2 separate regions of the Homo sapiens genome follow, and region 1 is linked to region 2. The links are contacts of gene promoters, found by promoter capture Hi-C in blood cells and fetal thymus (Javierre and others, 2016). All regions are on one chromosome and are shown on one strand. The core of a region is centred on a gene start or on the middle of the fragment in contact, and the rest is flanking DNA. Distances in the headings are between cores, read along the strand shown. Region 1 overlaps FGF9 (fibroblast growth factor 9). Region 2 holds the start of MTMR6 (myotubularin related protein 6).

The links. Contacts are between HindIII fragments. The CHiCAGO score rates a contact against its expected background, and 5 or more counts as called.
Region 1: a contact is called between a fragment that was not itself captured here and the fragment with the promoter of MTMR6 in region 2, in 1 of 17 cell types (fetal thymus). The highest score is 6.0, in fetal thymus.

The regions. Positions count from the first base shown.
Region 1 is chr13:21,672,448-21,677,004 of GRCh38, reverse strand. The region is part of intron 1 of FGF9 (fibroblast growth factor 9); the gene reads right to left. Among named protein-coding and RNA genes, the nearest start is that of FGF9, 3.7 kb to the right of the region's middle. RefSeq lists silencers at 1,509-1,558, 2,969-3,098, 3,119-3,338. The HindIII fragment of the contact is 3,279 bases long and covers 1,192-4,470 here.
Region 2 is chr13:25,284,124-25,288,996 of GRCh38, reverse strand. It overlaps MTMR6 (myotubularin related protein 6), which reads left to right and starts at 1,509. Exons shown (of 14, transcript NM_004685.5): 1 at 1,509-1,773. The coding sequence starts at 1,750. RefSeq lists enhancers at 1,196-1,365, 1,466-1,805, 1,509-2,129. The HindIII fragment of the contact is 4,901 bases long and covers 1-2,170 here.

The DNA.
Region 1 (4,557 bases), core at 1,582-4,081, 3.6 Mb after region 2:
CTATTTCAGGAAAATCACCACACCGGACCTTCCTCATTGCCCCAGACTCACTATTAGTGACTATCCCCAGAGCTGATGGGCTGCCCCAGTTCTGTTCACATGGACCATTATCCCAAAGCTGGCACCGCCCCCTAGAGCCCATCTGTGCTGGGCCTCACCTCCAAGGCCAGGCAAGGCAGTGGGAGAGGAAGGCAGTCAGAGCTGCTCCACTCTGGCCCTCATGACATGGTTCTCTGGCTTAAGAGCCCCCAACGCATTACAGAACCGCACTCTTCAGACCACACAAATGTAGGCAGACTGTCGAGAGGGGCAGGGCATGAGGCTGCAGAAAATTAATGATTAAGCCTCTTCCCTGCAGAGCTTCCTGCTCACCCAGAGAAGCTCGAACCAGGGCTGCCAGATCAACCATCTCAGATCCTGCACCGGGGTAAGTTCGGATCTGTAGCAACCTGAGCACATCTCATAGAGTTTATATAGGAAATGACTAACTGAATGGGAGTTATAACTCCACTAATTTTTCCAGAACCTGAAGCAATCCTAAAACCATCTCCTTAAACACCCAGTGTTTTCCTGAGACATTGAAGAGTCAGATACATAGAACAGAATTAAAGTTCAAAACCCTGGAAATAAGTTTTAAACACCTGTTTAAAAAAATCATACTATCATATTTCTCCCCTCTAGTAAAACCTTCACCTGACCCAATTTGAATGGAAGCCCCAGTTTGGGTGCTCATCTGAGGTCCTGATGAAGACCGGCCTTTCAGAGCTACCTAACCCCAGCCAAAAAGGGAACAGACTTAGGTTTCCTAAACAAGTTAAATAGCAGATCAGGCCCAGCGTTCATGTTTTTATTATTTTACATTACTATTTCCCCAAATGATTTTCTGCTCACATTTCTATCCATCTAGCAAGGCTGGAGTGCTTTAAAAGTGAGCTCTATATATAGGCATATAGATATACAGATGAAACAAGACATCTCGCTCCCCCAGCCTACTGCACAGAGATACAATTGCGAGTTCCTTTTCTCCTTGTTCAATCTTATCTCCACACCACCAATCCGAGGGGGAAAAAAAAAAAAAAAGGCTCCTTCAAGGTCCCACCTAAGTTGTCACCTCTGCAGCTCCTGCTGGAACAGTAAGACTCCCCCACCCCCACGTCCTCTGCACTGCTGCTGCTGTGTCACTGCCAAGCTTGCCAGCAGCTGCAGTCACCTGCGGCTGCATGGGGGCGGCAAAAATCCTTTTTCCAGCGCGTTTCCTTCTGCTGTTTGATTTCAGGTAGAAAATGCACCTTCTATTTTAATCAAGGTGTAAACCCACCGCACCCCCCACCTACAGTTACTCTTTTCTAGAGAAACTGAGTGTGAGGACGAACTCCCCAGAGGGGAGCCGGGCTGCGGAGGAGAGGCTGCTGCCGGAGGAGGAGGAGGGCCGAAGGTGAGGCCGCGGCGGCGCGCGGGAGCGCCAGGTGTGCCAGAGCCGGGGCACCGCAGCCCCCTCGCCCCCTCCCGGCGCCTGTGCCCTCCCTCCGCCCTCCCCGCGCGAGCCGCGGTGTCCTAGCGCCGCCGCGGCCTCGTTCCGGGCGGGGCTGGGAAGGCGAGGGTAGGAGGCTCCCGGCACACGCACCACCGCTCTGCGGAGGTTGCTAATATTGGGACCTGCCGCAGCGGCAGCAGCGGGAGACCGCGGCACTGCTGTCACCCCGGGGGCCCGCTTCTCACTGCAACCGGATGAAAGACTTAAATAACCCTCCTGCCTCACCCTGCTTCCCCACCCCCACTGCGCACAGCCACCCACTCAACTCCATCCCAGCCAGAGTGAGTGGCACAGCGGAGCGCCAGAGCGCCCTTCCCCCTCGGCCGACGCCAGGCCGACGGGCTAGCTAGCGGCTCGGCGCCCCCAGTCCCCAACCTGGGCCGGGGCTTCCGCTCCCCTCCCATCCAACACTACCCCTAGCCCCTCCCCCCAGCCCCCACATCCCCCCCAGCCCCCACATCCCCCGCAACACTGTACCGAGAGCGTCTAAGGAGTGGAGATGCCACTTCCCTGACAACACCTTTCTCTGACCTCTAGGGGTGAGGGGTCTAGCTTTTTGTTTAACGGTTTCTATTGAGCCACTGTAGCCCGCCGCTGTCCTCATCCGCTCACCCTAGAATGCGCCTCTCCTGCCCTCCCCTCCCGCGTGGCCCCCGCCCTTGCATCCGCGCTCTCTCCAGTGGCAGAGTTACGGGATTTCTAATGACTCGACTGCATGTGGCAAACGTCCTATCCTAAAGGTGACTGCATCAAAAAAAAAAAATGCTCATGGAGGGAAGGGGTGCGTGAAGAAGCGCCAACTAGAATATCCCATAATCTCTGCACACCAGGGCCCAGTCGTGCTGCACCGGAGTTCTAATAGGGTCTCTCAAAGACAGGCTCGGCTGATCCACACAATAAAACCGGCTCGGGCCCGCCGCGGCGCCCCTGCAGCCGTGCGCCCCCGCCGCGCTCCCGCGCACACCCCGGGCTCCCCCGGTTGTGAAGCCGGAGCGGAGGCGGGGGCGCGGGAAAGCCAGATCGCGATCGGCGAGCTCGCGAGCTCTGCTCTCGGAAAGCGGTTAACAATAGCACGCCGCCCCCTCCGCCCGCCTCCGCGGCCCTTTGTCCCCCCCACCCCCACTCCTTTCCCTGCGGCTCCGGCCAGGGGCCCCCGACCCACCTCCCGGGCACCACGGAGCCCTTCGAGTCTCCAAAACCCGGCTGCGTGCTTCAGAAGAAGGACACGGAATGGGACAGGGGAGCTCAGGGGTCCGACCTCCAGCCCGTCCTCTGTCCCCGCCACCAACTCTCCTGCCGCTGCGCGCGCCTCCAGCCGTTCCCACACCGCAAACCACCGTGCAGCCCAGGGCGGCGGCTGTCAGCCCCGCCAGACCCACTCTCACACACAAAGAGAAAGCGAAGGGGCTCAACTTGGGCCAAAATGAAAAACCGGATTCCCTAAACGCGGCCAGAAGTGTGTCAGCCCCTGCCTGCCGCCCCCCGGCCCCCGTGGTCCCCGCAGCACTGAAGGGCGCACCCGAGCCAGGCGGAAAGGGAGCCGGAACGCGAGCGCGTTTAGGACCGCGCGGAGCCGGCCGGGCAGCCGCTAAGTGCGCCGCGGGGCCCGGGCGGCCGAGCGGGCACCTGCCGACCGCGAGCGCGGGAGGGCTGGAGCTCCGGCCGCCTGGCACACCTAGGCCGGCCGCCCACGCCGCTCGCTTCGGTCGGCGCGGCCCCGACACCCTGCGGGTGGCCGCCGCGGCCCCGGACACGCTCGCTCGCCCACCCAGGGCCGCCCACTGCCTGTTGTTCTGGTATCGAACGCTAGGCAGGGTGGCAGCCCTTAAAGAGGCCAGATGGAAACGGCACTTTTAGTAAAGTTTAGTCTTCTCTTTGCAACAACCAGAATCTACCTTTACTTCTGGGGTGGGGAGGGGATAGTTATATTTCAACTGAATAATTGCAAAGCAAAGAGCTATAACTTTTTTTTAAGCAGCGAGTGGAGACGGCCGGAGCAATTTCACACTACTAGGCTCAGCTGTGGGCTTAGGCTCAGGGGTGAGCATGAGGAGCAAATCCTGGGCCTCGTGGATCTGGGACCATCCCCAGCCCAGGCCTAAGTCCTCCTCACCTTCTGGCATCATCCGCAGCCGCACGAAGCTAAACATACAGTTTAGATTGTGTTCAACATCTGGCACTAAAGCATGAGGAAGAAAAATCACCAGAGGACTTTGTTTTTTACGACCTAGTTTAAGTGTTGTCAGGTGGGTTCACTCAGAAGTTAACTCCTTCCAACAGTCTAGTTGCCCAAACTGGCGCTTATTTTTTTTTTTTTAAGTAAGGAAAAAACTCAAGAGTCCACCCAATTGGGACTGTGTTAGTTGACTTCGTGCCGTTGGGCTCAGGGTGCCCCGGCAAGCACGTGTGTGCAAGCATAAAGTGGGCAGAGCCACCAGCCCTCGAGTCTGCAGCCCTCAGTGCTGAGTCACAAATACCCTCCGCTGAAAAATGAAATCCTCGGAATGCCCTTTAAAATTCGCTCGCAGCGTTTGCACGCGCGCACACACTCACACCAGAGAGCCACGCAGGAGACCTACACAGGGCTGCACACTATGGAAATTTAAAAGCAGAGGTTATCACTTGATAGCTGGAAGGACAAAAACCCCTGAGCGCCCTGCCTCTTCCCAAGTCATTTTCCCCCAAGCCTCTGCCCCTGCTTTTCACGGAGCCTAAAATATGACTTTAGTCCTCCCAACAGGACAATCCGTCAGCAACCTTCGCCTATGGGGCTTTCAGACCCTCACAGGGGAGAATAAACAATGCACTTAATATACAATTCAAGTAGTATACTTACTAGAGGAAAGGGGGAAAGGAAAAAAACCTTAATTTGGGCACAAGATACCCACTGCCTTCAAGAAACTGCATTAAGTTCTTAGTAGTTAATGATTAAAGCTTTAAACTCGTGCAATCAGTCCATTCAAAAGAAACTTCCTAAACCCGTGTATCTGATGCAAAAGAACTGGAAACTTGTATTATATTTA
Region 2 (4,873 bases), core at 260-2,759:
GCAATCCTCAGTAAAGACCTACATTACTTTTCTCTCTCTCTATATATATATATATGTGTATATATATATATATGTATATATATATATATATATATGTGTATATATATATATATATATATTTTTTTTTTTTTCTGAGCAGGATTTGTGGGGTTTTTTTTCGGGGGGAGGGGGTGGATGTGATACTGTACTAAGGTTGGTTTCTAGGTGGTTTAATGTAACTCTTATTACATATTTAGCTTAGAGGAGTCAGCAACTCCACCGCAAAGGCTGTTGTGTTTAATAACCATCTCCATTGCTTTGGCAATCTGTCTGAAACATCGTAGGCACTCAAAACAAAACAAACCAAGACAACTTGAACAAAATGAAACAAATAAGTGAAACAAAATTTTTAATTATAAAAGAAAATTTAGATGTTAGGCTTTTCTAACACCAATCACAGTATGAAAGATGAAGATTACAAACCTTAACCGGCTTAGTACAGAATACTTACAAAACGTAGAGCAGAGTTTCTCGGACTCTAACTCCTGACCTCAAGTGATCCGCCCGCCTCAGCCTCCCAAAGTTCTGGGATTACAGGCGTGAACCACCGCGCCTGGCATAGAGCAGGGTTTCTCAACCTCTGCACTGTTGTCATCTGCCGGATAATTCCCTGTAGTTGGGGGGTTGGTCTGGTGCCTAGTAGGGTGTTCAGCAGCCGACTTGTGACTTGGCCTCCACCCACCAGTTGCCCCCCGCCGCCACCCCCCCACCACCACCATTTGAGACAACCAAAAATATCTCCAGATGTTACCAAATGTCCCCCGGGGAGAAAACTCACTCCAGGCTGAGAAGTACCACATTAGACGTGTTCTAACAAAAATTACCTGTAACCCTCACCTAGAAATGTAAACTTTTTGTTTACATAAATAAAAATTACAGAGCACGGCTACATTGAACTTATTGTTCCATAGTCAGTTTTTTCTTCACTCAGTAATGCAGCATTAACATTTTCGTTATGTGATATCCCTCTACAGGATGAGTTTTAATGGATGCTGGTGCTAACATCGTATGAAATTGAGGTAGGAGGCGGGACTCTGACACCAGACCAGATTGAGGACTAGCTAATCATCATACTTTACATAAGGAATCCGTAGGATTGGAGAGTTGATTGTTTCAAATAAGGCTGGTTTCCTTATTTGGTTATTTCCTTAGAATAATAACTCCAAATCTGATTATTTCCTTAGAATACATTCTTATGAGTAGAACTGCAGCTCAAACTAAATTTGGTGCTGTCCAGTGGTATGGCGATGGACTTCAGAACATCCTCCACTCTTGCCCTCACCCCACAAGAACCCTTTACTCGGGATCCATTCTCACGCAGTCTTCCTCCCCGACCGCCCCGCGCGTCCGCTCGGCGGGATGACAAAGACCGCCTCGGGTGGGGTGGTGAGCAGTACCGGCCTCCTCCAGCAGGGGGCGCTGTGGGATCCGCCGCTGTCCGGGACGAACCAGCAAGCCGCTCTCGGTCCACACACGCTCTGTCTGCCTGCCCCGAGTCCCCCGGGAGGCCGCGGGGTTTGGGGAAGTGTTTCTAGGAGACGGCGCTCACCGGCTGCACCTGCGCCGTTGACGCCACCGGGGCCGGCAGACAGACCCGCGGCGCTGGCTGGTGGAGGGAGTTCCCGCTTGCTCTCTGTCGCTGTCACCGCCCTGTTTCTGTAGCCGTATGGTACGCCTGTGAGACCGGCTGCCGGCTGACGTCTCCTTGCGATGGAGCATATCCGGACGACCAAGGTAGTCGGGCGCGGGATCGCCAGTCTTCAGGGGCCCTGCTCTGACCCGGCTGAGGCAGGAGGAGACGAAGGCTCTGCTGGCCTGACTGGGGCTGGGAGCCGGCCCGGCGGAGACCCGGCCCGGGGCGGGAGGGTCTGGCCAGGCCTGGTCTGGGAGGGCAGGGTTAGCTTGGGCCAAGCGGGGTGCAGAGGCCTCCTGTACCTACAGGAGCAGGGGTCCCACTTTCAGCATCTTGGAGTGCGTAGAGATAAGTCTGGGAAAACTGGTCACCGCCCTCCTAGCTCTACGTTTTCTCGGGCAAAATTGGGGCTCCTTTAACTTTGGAGTCTTTCAGCCTTTCGTTGCCTCATCAACCGGAAAACCGTCTTCAAATTAACATTATGATGCTGTGTAAGCTTGTCCTTGCTCACATTTCATTGTCCCGTGTCACAGATTCACAGTACGAGTTTTGGAGGAACCGAGATCAGCACTCCGCTCCACCTCCCTTTGCTGTCTCGGTCTCCAGTCTTTCGCATCCGGTGTTTCCGTGTCTGTGCTTCATACTTCAGGCATTGTCCTGTGTCAGTAGTCAAGAGTTCTGGAGAAGGGAAAAATGTTATTCCATATTTTAAAAGGTCGGATGCAGCTTTATTCGATTGACCTTATTGCACTCCATGCTTAATTTTTGTGTGTGGAAGACCTTCATTTTGAGAACGAACAAATATTTTTATTTCGTTACAAATTTAAAAACGGAAGGAAATGACATCAGAATGTTACCAAATTACGTTTCCAACGACATTTAAGTTTAACTTTGAGAGGGAGAAAAACATAAATCGAGACGAGAAGAATAACATTTTAAAATCACTGCGAGCCCACTGCAAGGCAGCCTCTTGACGTTTTGGCAAAGCTGAAGCCCTTTAGTTGCTGCCCATCTTAAAATTACGGCTCATTTAGGGAACCACAGATGTTCGTTATCTTCATTGTTCCAAGAAGAATTTGTGTTTTTAAAAATTTTTTAAATGTTTCACAAACCTTTTAAAGGTATACATAAATTTTTATTGGAGCTTGTCTTTAACATTGTGCATACCGTATCTAGTAAAATTGAAGATTCTGAAAACTAACCCCTTAACATTTTTTTTTAAGAGAAGAAAGATAAAATAACTTGAGAATTCAAGTTGTGGGTACTTAAATTTTGAAAATGGAAGGGTGCTTAAGTCTATAACCAAACTCGTAGAAGGTGCACAGAGGAAAAGAGGACTAGAGTGGACATTGGATCAGGTTCTTGTATTGGTTCCAGATATGTATTATGTAGTAGCTAAGTGCACGTGACTTCCTTCTGCATCAGTTCGAAGCTCCTCTATTTTTCATATGCTTTCTACGGTGCATAGCACACAATCGAAAACCGGTAAAAGGCTGGGCACGGTGGCTCACGCCTGTAATCCCAGCACTGTGGGAGGCCGAGGTGGGCGGATCACTTGAGGTAAGGAGTTCGAGACCAGCCTGGACAACCTGGCAAAACCCCATATCTACTAAAAATACAAAAATTAGCCGGGCATGGTGGCAGGCGCCTGTAATCCCAGCTACTCAGAGGCTGAGGCAGGAGAATTGCTTCAACCGGGGAAGTGGAGATTGCAGTGAGCCAAGATGGCACCAGTGCACTCCAGCCTGGGCAATAGAGCGGGACTCAGTCTCAAAAAAAAAAAAGAAAGCCGGGTGGGGTGGTATGTACCTGTAGTCCCAGCTACTCGGGAGGCTGAGATGGGAGGATGGCTTGAGCCCACGAAGTGGAGGTTGCAGTGAGCCAAGATTGCGCCATTGCCCTCCAGCCTGGGTGACATAATTGGGGGGGGGGGGGCGGAAAAGAATAAAAAATCAGTAAAAGTAAACTGAATCTGATCAACTAGAGCAAATCCTATTCTTAGGTGGATGATAAGAGTGAACAGACTTGGAAAATATTTAGGATCCCTTGGTTATTTTAAATCTTTCCTCATTCAATTTATTATGAATATATATCTTTGTTTTTATTTGTAGAGTTGTAGCCCCTCTTATTAGCTCTTTGAAAGTTGTCACTGGTGACTTTCATTTTGTCTGATATTCCTCCTTATCTACCAACTGATGAACTTTTCTTCAAGTAATGCTCTGATTTTGACTTATCTTTACACAGTGGTCTCATGCTAGTGGTTTAATAAGGCCTTTTTAGAGACTAAGAAATTTCTGATGAATTGTCTATTAAAACTACTTTTCAAATATGCTCCTTTATTACTTTGGGTTGTTTTTCTAGTATTGGATCACTACTCTGGAGTAATATTAAGTGAGTGTATGTAGACCGCAAATAAATATTTTCTAGGTACCTAGTATGTGCCAGACACTGTATTGACACTGGGTATATAACAGCAAGATAGAGGTGGACCTCAGGGTACATTCTGTTAATTGTTGTGGGGACTGTAACATGTTCTTAAATTATTAATGTATTGGGAAATAACTTACTTTTAAAAGATTGGTTTGAACATAGCCAAACTTTTGTTTCCATTATGCATAGCCTTCACCTGGATTTAGTTAGTTTGCTGCAAAAATAAGTGTAAGTATTTAAAAAGCAAAAGTGGATTGTTTTAGATTTATTAGCTGTTTTGACCTCTATGTAGTTTAGTCATTAGGATCAAAATTGACCGTAGAGTGTCCTTTATGACTATTTAGTGATTTTTGTTGTTCAGTCAGCTCTATTTGAAAAGTAATAATTACCATTTATTGAGCAACTATATGTCAATATAGCCAATTATACAATATTATTACTTTATAATATGTACAATTGTATAAATCTGTTAATTTATACATTATCATCACTGATCTCTTAAATAACCCTGTCAGTTGGGTAGTATTATCTCCATTTATAGGTGAGGAGGAAATAGGCTTAGAGAATTTAAGTAACCTGCTCAATTAGTTCACAAGAGATAGAATTAGTATTTAAACTAAGGTGTGTTTAACTCCAAAGACTATGTATGCTCTTTCCAGTGCCTCTCTAGTTTTAATCTAATTGTTAAATGTGCATTAGTATTAATTCAGAAATAAATGCTGATGATAATTCTAAGAGCTTCCCCCCCAAACCTCTTTTTGTCATAAATAA